Regions from separate parts of the Homo sapiens genome. Here region 1 is linked to region 2. Evidence: promoter capture Hi-C in 16 types of primary human blood cells and fetal thymus (Javierre and others, 2016). All regions are on one chromosome and are shown on one strand. The core of a region is centred on a gene start or on the middle of the fragment in contact, and the rest is flanking DNA. Distances in the headings are between cores, read along the strand shown. Region 1 holds the start of LINC03084 (long intergenic non-protein coding RNA 3084). Region 2 holds the start of ZFPM2 (zinc finger protein, FOG family member 2).

Region 1 (4,536 bases), core at 1,533-4,032, 130 kb before region 2:
CACAGGAAGGGTGGGGCAGTACAGGCTGCTGTTCCAGACAAGTGGCTGCCCTCCATGCCTAAAGATCTGCCTCAGTCTACAGCATAGAGGACACCCTGCACCCAGTTCTTTGCTCAAAAAAGGCAGTTTGTCTCGGGCTGCTCAGTTAGGTGAGGTGGTACTCCAGATACCTAGAAATTTGCATGCACATGGAGCAAAGAAAGACTTGCTGCACCACAATCTAGGTCCAGGAAGGGCAGGGCAGCTCAAGCTGCTAAACTAGGTGAATGGGTGCTCTAAATGCCTGGATATCTTCCTGGGCACGGAGTGGAGAGGGCCCCACTGCACCTTGATCTATGTTCATGAAGGGTGAGACAGCTCATGCTGATGATTCAGGCAATCAGGTGCTCTAAATGCCTGGATATATGCCTGGGGGTGGAGTGGAGATGGCCCCATTTCACCGTGATTTCAGGGAAGCAGGCTGGGGCACCCAGCAATGGCATCCACAGACTGGTTCCAGGTCACTGAACTGGCTCTACCTGCAAGTCTCACTGCCTAGGATAAACTGCAGCTTTAGAAGCTCTCCCCACCCTAGACTTGTCACAAGGAAGAGCACAATTCCAGCGCCTACTGTTGAGGTGCTTTCCACAGTTCTGGCTGTGGAGGCCACAACCCGGCCCCAGAGCAGGCACTCCAATGTCTGGCCTGAGACTCAAATGTCTGTGTGACCATGCTGCCAGGTTACCAAAGAATGGCTGACCAGATCATGCAACCAGATTAAAAATGTTGTCCTCCTCTCAATCCCAGGTCTAGGAAAATGTCTGAAGCTTTTCCCACTGTCTTTCCCTCATGGCATCTCCAAGCCTCTCCTCAAGTTAGTTTCAGGGTTTGAGAGAAACAAAGTGCTCTCCCTTGGGTTGCTCAGATCCCTAGTGGAAAGGTGAGTCATATAGGGCAGCTCTCTGCATCTCTCACTTACTGAGGCTTCACTTACTTTTGTCAGGCAGATGCCATCATTGGGATTTTTGCCAGCATTCTCTCTGAGATCTTGGATGCTTTTCATTATTTCAGTAGATTCCTGTTTTCCTTCTTGAATTAACACTGAGTTTATCTTTATGCACTATCTGTCTATTTCCAAATGGCTGAGGCATGGTAAAAGCATATAATCTAGCATCTTTGGAAAAAATGGAAGCAAAATTATGTAAGTTTTGAATACCATGTTGTAGGATAATAATATAGATGTATTTTTGCTTAAAGCCAAACTTTTTTATGTTGTGTTGTCATTGTTGTGGGGTTTATTTGTTTACTAAACTCTGCAAGAGGTAAAATCAGATTACACTGTAATATTTGCTATATGAGATATTTTCTTCTACTAATTGCAAGCTAAAAATAAGTTAACCAATGGCTCCCTGTTAGGAAATTAAAAATACAATTTCATATGTTTCTTACGAGGACTAAAGAACCATAAACCTCTTCTTTGCGTATAAGGATGGCAAAGAGCTCAATTTTTTTCTGAGCAATTTTGTTCCCTTTTCTGAATGGTAAATTTAGTATTATTGAATAATAGACTACAACGATTTAATCTTGAATTATTTTATCAAAGGACACTTAGGTTATTTTATTTATTTCCAAGAGTATTTCTTGTATTTAGTTTATGTTTGCTTATACGTGATAGAACATATATGAATCTATTCTGGATTACCAATATTGAATAACAAAAAGGATGTTTGGCAGATTATAGACAAATATTTTAGAAAGCATATTCTGCTTAAAATTTTATTTTTCATACAGTCACGAGTAATCAACTCATAACTAACCTATAACTTAATGTCGATGCCCCAAAGCTAAAGAGAAGGTCCATAGGAAAATAAGAAAATAGATGTAAAAAGAAGTACTTCTAGAGACATGAAATTTCAGTACAACAAATAGATAAATCTAAAACTTCCTTTAGAATTATTTTCCATCTATAATTTGACTTATCAGCACCATTTGTTGATATCACACAATAAAAAAAGACTTCAAAATTCAGAATATAAAATTCTAAACCCTGCCCGATACTAATCAGGAGTAAAAACAAAATAAAATATTTTAAGGCTTTCAAATCTTGAATTTACCTCTCATGTTCCTTTTCTGAGGATGGTTCTTAATGATATCATTCGTGATAATGAATCAGAAAACAGAAACAGAAACTAAGAAAGACAAATTGTGCAATATAAGAAGCGAGGAAATTCACCCTGGAAGCTAAAGAAAACAGACTCTAGAATGACAGCGTTTGGTAAACACAGAAAATAATTGGCAGTCTTAGAATAGGAATTTAGTGGGCTACAAGACAAACATCTTTGGAGGAATTAAATGGACATCAGCAAGATGATTGAATAGGGAGCCCTAGCCTCTCTTTCCTCTAAGGAGAAAGCAATTCAACAACAATACAGACCATTTCCCTTTGTGAGAAATCCAGAAACCAACTAAAAGGTTCCAGCATCCCAGGCAAACACAAACCCAGCTGCACCAATGCCAGTAGGAAGATTCATGGCAAACACTTACCATAGGCCCTCTTCCTCAGTGCAATGCAATTGAGAGAAAACTCCCAGATCTCAGTTTCTCCCTTGGAATGGAAAGAGAAGACTGAAACATATGTCCAATGTTGAGACTTTTTCAGGAGCTGCCCAAGGGACTGGTTTATGTCCTGACTAGAAGAACACTGACAGGAAGGGGTGCCAAGTTGAGAGCTGCTGAGAACAAAGGCAAAAATTTGGACCCTTCACTGGCCATGGTCGCTTCCTCTGGCTCAGTAAATAAAGAGTAGAAGAAAACCTCTAACTCCTTGCTTCCTCCTGGAGAGGAAAAGAAATAAAACCAGCAACCAAATTTCTGGCTTTTGGCAGCCTATCTGAGAGGACTAGTTTTTATCTTGCTATCTCAGAGCCATATATGACAAGCCCATAGCTAACATCTTGCTCAACAGTTAAAAACTGAAAAATTTTCCTCTCAAATCAGGAACAAGGCAAGAATGCCCAATCTTGTCACTTCTATTTAACATAGTTCTTGAAGTCCTAGCTAGAGCAAATAAGCAAGACAAAGAAATAAAAGGCATTCAAGTCAGAAAGGAAGATGTAAAATGATCTCTATTAGTAGATTACATGGGTACACAAAAAATTCTCAAGATTCCACAAAAAAAAACCTGTTAGAACTAATAAATTCAGCAACATTGCAGGATCCAAAATTATCACAAAAATTACTTATGTGGCTATACACTAACAATGAAATATCCAAAAAGAAAATTAAGAAAACAATCCTTACAATACTTACAATACTTACAATAGCATCAATAAATATAAAATACTTAGGAATAAACTTAACCAAAGAAGTGAAAGTCTTCTACACTGAAAAACTATAAAACATTACTGAAAGAAATTAAAGAAGACACAAATAAATGGAAAGACATCCCATGTTCATAGATTAAAAGACAAGATTGTAAAAATGCCCATATTGCCCAAAGAGATCTATAGGTTCAATGGAATCCCTATCAAAATCTCAGTGGCATTTGTTGCACAAATAAAAAAGCATCCTTAACCTCATATGGAACCATAAGAGAGCCGAACTAACCAAAGTAAAATTGAGAAAAAATAACAAAAAAAAAAAGCCTCACACTTTGTGACTTCAAAACGTATTACGAAGTTATAGTGATTAAAAATTTGTATATGGGACTGGCATTACAGACATATAGACCAGTGTAACAGATTAGAATGGCCACAAATAAATCTACATATATATGATTAACAAGCATGACATCCTTCAACAAGGATGTCAAGATGTCATCATTGTTGACATCCTTCAACAAGGATGTCAAGATGGCACTATGGGAAAAGGATAGTCCCTTCAGCAAATGGTGTTGGGAAAGGTGGCCATTCACATGCAAAAGATAGAAATTGGACCTTTATCTCACACCAAACACAGAAATCAATTCAAAATAGTCTGTGATTTGTCTTTTTCTGTTTTGTTTCCTTTTAAATTTTTGTGGGTACGTAGCATGTGTATATATTTATGGGGCACATGAGATATTTTGATACAGGCATACAATGCATAGTAATCACATCAGAATAAGTGGCATATTCATTACCTCAAATATTTATACTTTATTCGTGTTACAAACAACCCAATTATGCTCTTTTAGTTATTTTTAAATGTACAATAGATTATTGCTAACTGTAGTCATCCTGTTGTTTTATCAAATACTAGATCATATTTATTCTATTTTTTGTACACGTTAATCATCCTTTATGCTTCACCCCTACCCAAAACCCTTCCCAGCCTCTCATAATCATCCTTCTACTTTCTATCTACATAAATTCAATTGTTTTCATTTTTAGCCTCCACAAATAAGTGAGAACAGGCAAAGTTTGTCTTTCTGTGTCTGGCTTATTTCACTTAACATAATGACATCCAGTTCCATCCATGTTGTTAAAAATGACAGAAATAACAGTCTTTTTTTTTTTTGCGTCTGAATAGTACTTCATTGTGTATATGTACCACATTTTCTTTATCCACTTATCTGTT
Region 2 (4,058 bases), core at 1,231-3,730:
TACATTTGCACATTTATAGTTAAATTGTAATTTGCGATACAGAGGGTATTAGTTGTGAATTGTGGTTTTCAGTATCACAGACACATTTGTTGCTGTGGTTTTGCAATATCATTCCCTGATGCTTTTCTCAATTGTGGTTTTCATAATCATTGTTTGATAGTCATGTAGCTGTGGTTTGGGGCTGCTATATCCATTTGGACAGAGATAATTGCTTATAGGTTTTTCCGTCTATTTATTTTATAACCTCAGTGAATTAAACTAGAAAAAAAGAAAAACTGAACCTTAAATATCATTAATATTCTCATTAAAAATAATGAAAAAATATAAAATGTAATAGTATTCATTATTTTAATTCATTCATATTGACTATATTAATATATATTTATAAATTTAGATAAACTAATATCTATCTCTAATAATGCATTCTGGTTATCAATCTTGCCTTGAATTCTCTGACTTCTGCTCCTTTTAGCTTTTAAACTAAACATTTAGCTGAGATTTATTTGTTTTTCTTTTGCATTGCATATTTAACCACTTCAAACTCCAAAAGAAACAGTTACGATATTTTAATTCCAATGGGCATTCCTTTTGGGTGACATAAAAATTCAGCCAGTTCTGTAAAAAGATCTTTAAAAACCATAATGTACAATACATCTGATTCTAAGCACACCAATTTAACTGTAATGAATTGAAAATGAAGGAGGTAAAAATCTGCAGTTCTCTCTCTGCTTATTTATTCCACAACACAAACATAAATGGCCCTGCTTTTCATGGTACTTTCAGCCTTAATTTGTTGGTTCTTCACAGGAGGGACTTTGTCATTTAGTGCATTTTCCACTGCAGAGGACTATGTATTCTTACAGCCTCCTATGGTAATAGTACTAATGGTAATGTAATAAAATTCACAATTTGTCTTCAGCTTTGTATTAAGATTCTCTTGGCCATACCTTTCACAAGGCAACTCTTTACACCTTCCAGAAGATGTCCTGTTGGGGTTATAAATGACACTGATTACAGTGCCTCTTACACACTGAGCATCTTGCATTATGCTCAATCAGCCCAGGCTCTGTGCTGACCCCAGACCCTTTTAGAGTATCCAGTTTGGTGTGGTTCACACAAATAATAGTCAACCAAGCAAACGGGGACACAATTTGAGATCAGAATGGTCCACTTCACAACCTCCTGGGGGAAAAGTCAGCAGTATCTGGGGGACTCATGTGAACTGCAGTGGAGTTTATTAGTAAATACTGATTACATAAAGCAGCTAGTCCCACTGCACTTGGATAGAAGCTCCTTCCAACCCACATGGGAGAATATATTTAATACTTACCGTATATGAAACTGTAAGAAAATAAGCTAACCTCATACAGTTTAACTTGGCCAAAATAATAACTATGCAAATCACCTCAAAATTTGTTCTCCTTTTGGCTTGCAGTTGCCGATATACTACACATACAGTAATTGAATAAGAATAAAACAAAATTTTAGAAGCTAAAGAACCATTAAATAGTTACTGGGTCTTACCCGCTTGGGAAATTACAGCAAGATCAAATCTTTTATTAGTCGATCGGTGCTTCCCTGTGGCAGAAGACTAAGAGAATAGAAAGGTCACGGGGCAGGGTGGGACTACAGAACTTCCCCAGACTTTCCCAAAAAGTTAGTATTTTTATTAGAGATGGTTCGTTTTCCACTTACGGCTAATCAGCTAGCTAACGCTCGCTCCTCCTTTTCAAGATGAGAAAAATATCTGCTTGTCTCCAAATTTGAATATTTTACAATTTAAAATGGAAACTGTGGGTGACAGAACACGTTGAGGATCCGACTCAGCACCTCATCCACGTGGGCCCAGAGCGGGACGGTCCGTGTCCGCAGCGGTCTCCTGGGAGCCTTGAGAGCAAAGAAATGGTCTTCTGAGAGCCTGGGCAGATGAGCGGACTTAACTGGCCCCAAGACACACAGTTGGCATTTGTGATCATCTGGCTCTCGCCGAGGACTTTGCCAGTGGCCTAACCTTCCTGCCAAGAAGCTGGGAGGGCGGGGGTTGGGGGTGAGGGGAGGGGGCGGCATAACTGAAAGCACAAAGTTTAGGGAGAGACTGAGATTTCTTTGTGCCCCGCTGGACTGGCGAGGCGTGAGAGAGGAGAGTTGGGGTCCCTCAGAGAGGGCCGTTGGAAGAAGTTGCCTGGAAGGAGGTGGGGCGGGGTGCCCTGGCAGCTGCCCAGCGTTGACGCGGTGACAACTGCAGAAGGTGGCCCTCCTCCAAGCCGTCCCCACGCCTCCCCTCCAACTCCCACCCACCCCTGCCCCCATCCCCCACCACCGCCTGGATCCCCCGCACTTCGCCCGACCAAGGCCGGGGCCGTAGTTTGCATCCGGACTGGATTTGGATGCAGCCAATCCTCCTTTGGCTGATGGAATAGTCTCCCCTCCCCACAGCCCCGGCGCGCCCCTCCCTCGCGCGCCTCGCCGCCTCCCGCCGCAGAACAGGAGCTGCGCGGCCCGGAGCGGCGGCGGCGGCGCCGGAGTATCCGTCCCGCACGCCGGGGCGAGGGGCGAGCGAGCGCGCTCCTCCTCCCGCGCCCTGCGCCCCCGCGCTCCCCCTCTCCTCGCTGCTCGCTCTCCCGTCCCTCCCTCCTTCTCTTCCTTCTTTCCGTGTTATTTTTCTCTTCTCTTTCCCCTTTTCTCTCTCCCTGACCGTTCGCTTGTACATTCCCATTCTCCCCCCGTCGCTCTCCTCTCCCCCTCCCCTCCTCACTGTCACACTCTCTGTGCCCCCGTCTCTCTTCTCTCATTTGCTTGCTCATCTCCGAACGTGAATCCGCGGCTCCCGGAGGAGCCCAGCGCCCGGAGCACCTGGAGTCCGGCCGGCGGCGGGCCGAGCCTGGCCAGCGGCGGCGGCGGCGGCGGCGGCGGCGGGAGCCGAGGGAGCGGCAGCCGCGACCGCGGGCACCGCGGGAGCCCCAGCGGCAGCAGCCGCCGCCGAGATGTCCCGGCGAAAGCAAAGCAAACCCCGGCAGATCAAACGTAAGTTTGCGCGCGGGGCCGGGAGTTGGTGGGATTATTGCCCAGGAGCGGGGTGCGCGGGACGGGAAAGCGGTGGGTGGGTGGCGGGGCTAGGGGAGATCCGCTCCCGGTCCCCTAGATGTCTCAAACTTTGCCTGAGCAGTCGAAGGGACAACTAGACAGTCATAGACAGACAGACGGCCAGCCCGAGCCTCGGGCAGGAGAGAGGCTGCGAGGAGCAGCCCATGCTTGCCCCGCTCAGCCCTCGCGCTCCCGGGCTGCTTTTTTAATTCCGACCCGCGCACGCTGCGAGTCCCCGGCGCTGTCGTCCAGCCGGAGGGGCAGTCCCGCTCCTTTAGACGCTTATTATTGTTGTTGTCATTGCTTTGTGCGATTGACGTGGGACTACTCTTGGGAACCACTTTTAGTAACCAGGGTAGAAACTTCTCAGAAAAGCTGGGCGGTCGAGACCTCGGGGCGAGGGAGGTAACTTCCCCACGCGGTGGAAAATCAGAGCGTCAGGGTCCCGATCCTGGGCGGTGCCAGAGCCACACCAAACCCGAAGCGAAACAAAAAGTAGGTGTAAAAGTTCGCGCCTCTGCGGCGGGCGGCCGTGCGTCTCTGCCCTGCGGGCGCGGGCTGGTGGCTGGCAGGTCGTGTCCTGGGACTTCGGGCGGGTCCGGCTCACGCCGCCAGGACGCTCAGCCGAGCGGGGATTCGGGTGGTGTCTGGCCCTGGTGGCGCGCGGAGTCCTCCCTGGGAGGGGCCGCCAGTCACTTCCCAGCGCGGAAGCTGTGAGTTCAAGGCGGTGGGCGCGCAGGGGAGTGCATGGCCCTGAGCCCCCGGGTGCCCGGGGGTCCCGATGGTGCTTAGAGGACACGGCGGGTCAAGAGACACCTTCCGAAACAGGCACGCTCGCAGAGATCAAGTCGGTCAACTTTTCTTGGCTTGGGGAGAATTCCTCCAATAGCGTTTTATAGGCCTGCGACATATCTTCAACGCTTTGGCCGAAAAGAAGAAAAAACCTTATTAGTTTATTTTTTGCTAGCTTTATG

Evidence for each region. Contacts are between HindIII fragments. The CHiCAGO score rates a contact against its expected background, and 5 or more counts as called.
Region 1: the fragment with the promoter of LINC03084 here is called in contact with the fragment with the promoter of ZFPM2 in region 2 in 2 of 17 cell types (erythroblasts and megakaryocytes); the score reaches 7.5 in erythroblasts.

Annotation. Positions count from the first base shown.
Region 1 is chr8:105,186,013-105,190,548 of GRCh38, forward strand. It overlaps LINC03084 (long intergenic non-protein coding RNA 3084), which reads right to left and starts at 2,783. Exons shown (of 3, transcript NR_187537.1): 1 at 2,524-2,783. The HindIII fragment of the contact is 4,322 bases long and covers 805-4,536 here.
Region 2 is chr8:105,315,958-105,320,015 of GRCh38, forward strand. ZFPM2 (zinc finger protein, FOG family member 2) reads left to right here and starts at 2,481. Exons shown (of 8, transcript NM_012082.4): 1 at 2,481-3,024. The coding sequence starts at 2,985. The HindIII fragment of the contact is 6,875 bases long and covers 1-4,058 here.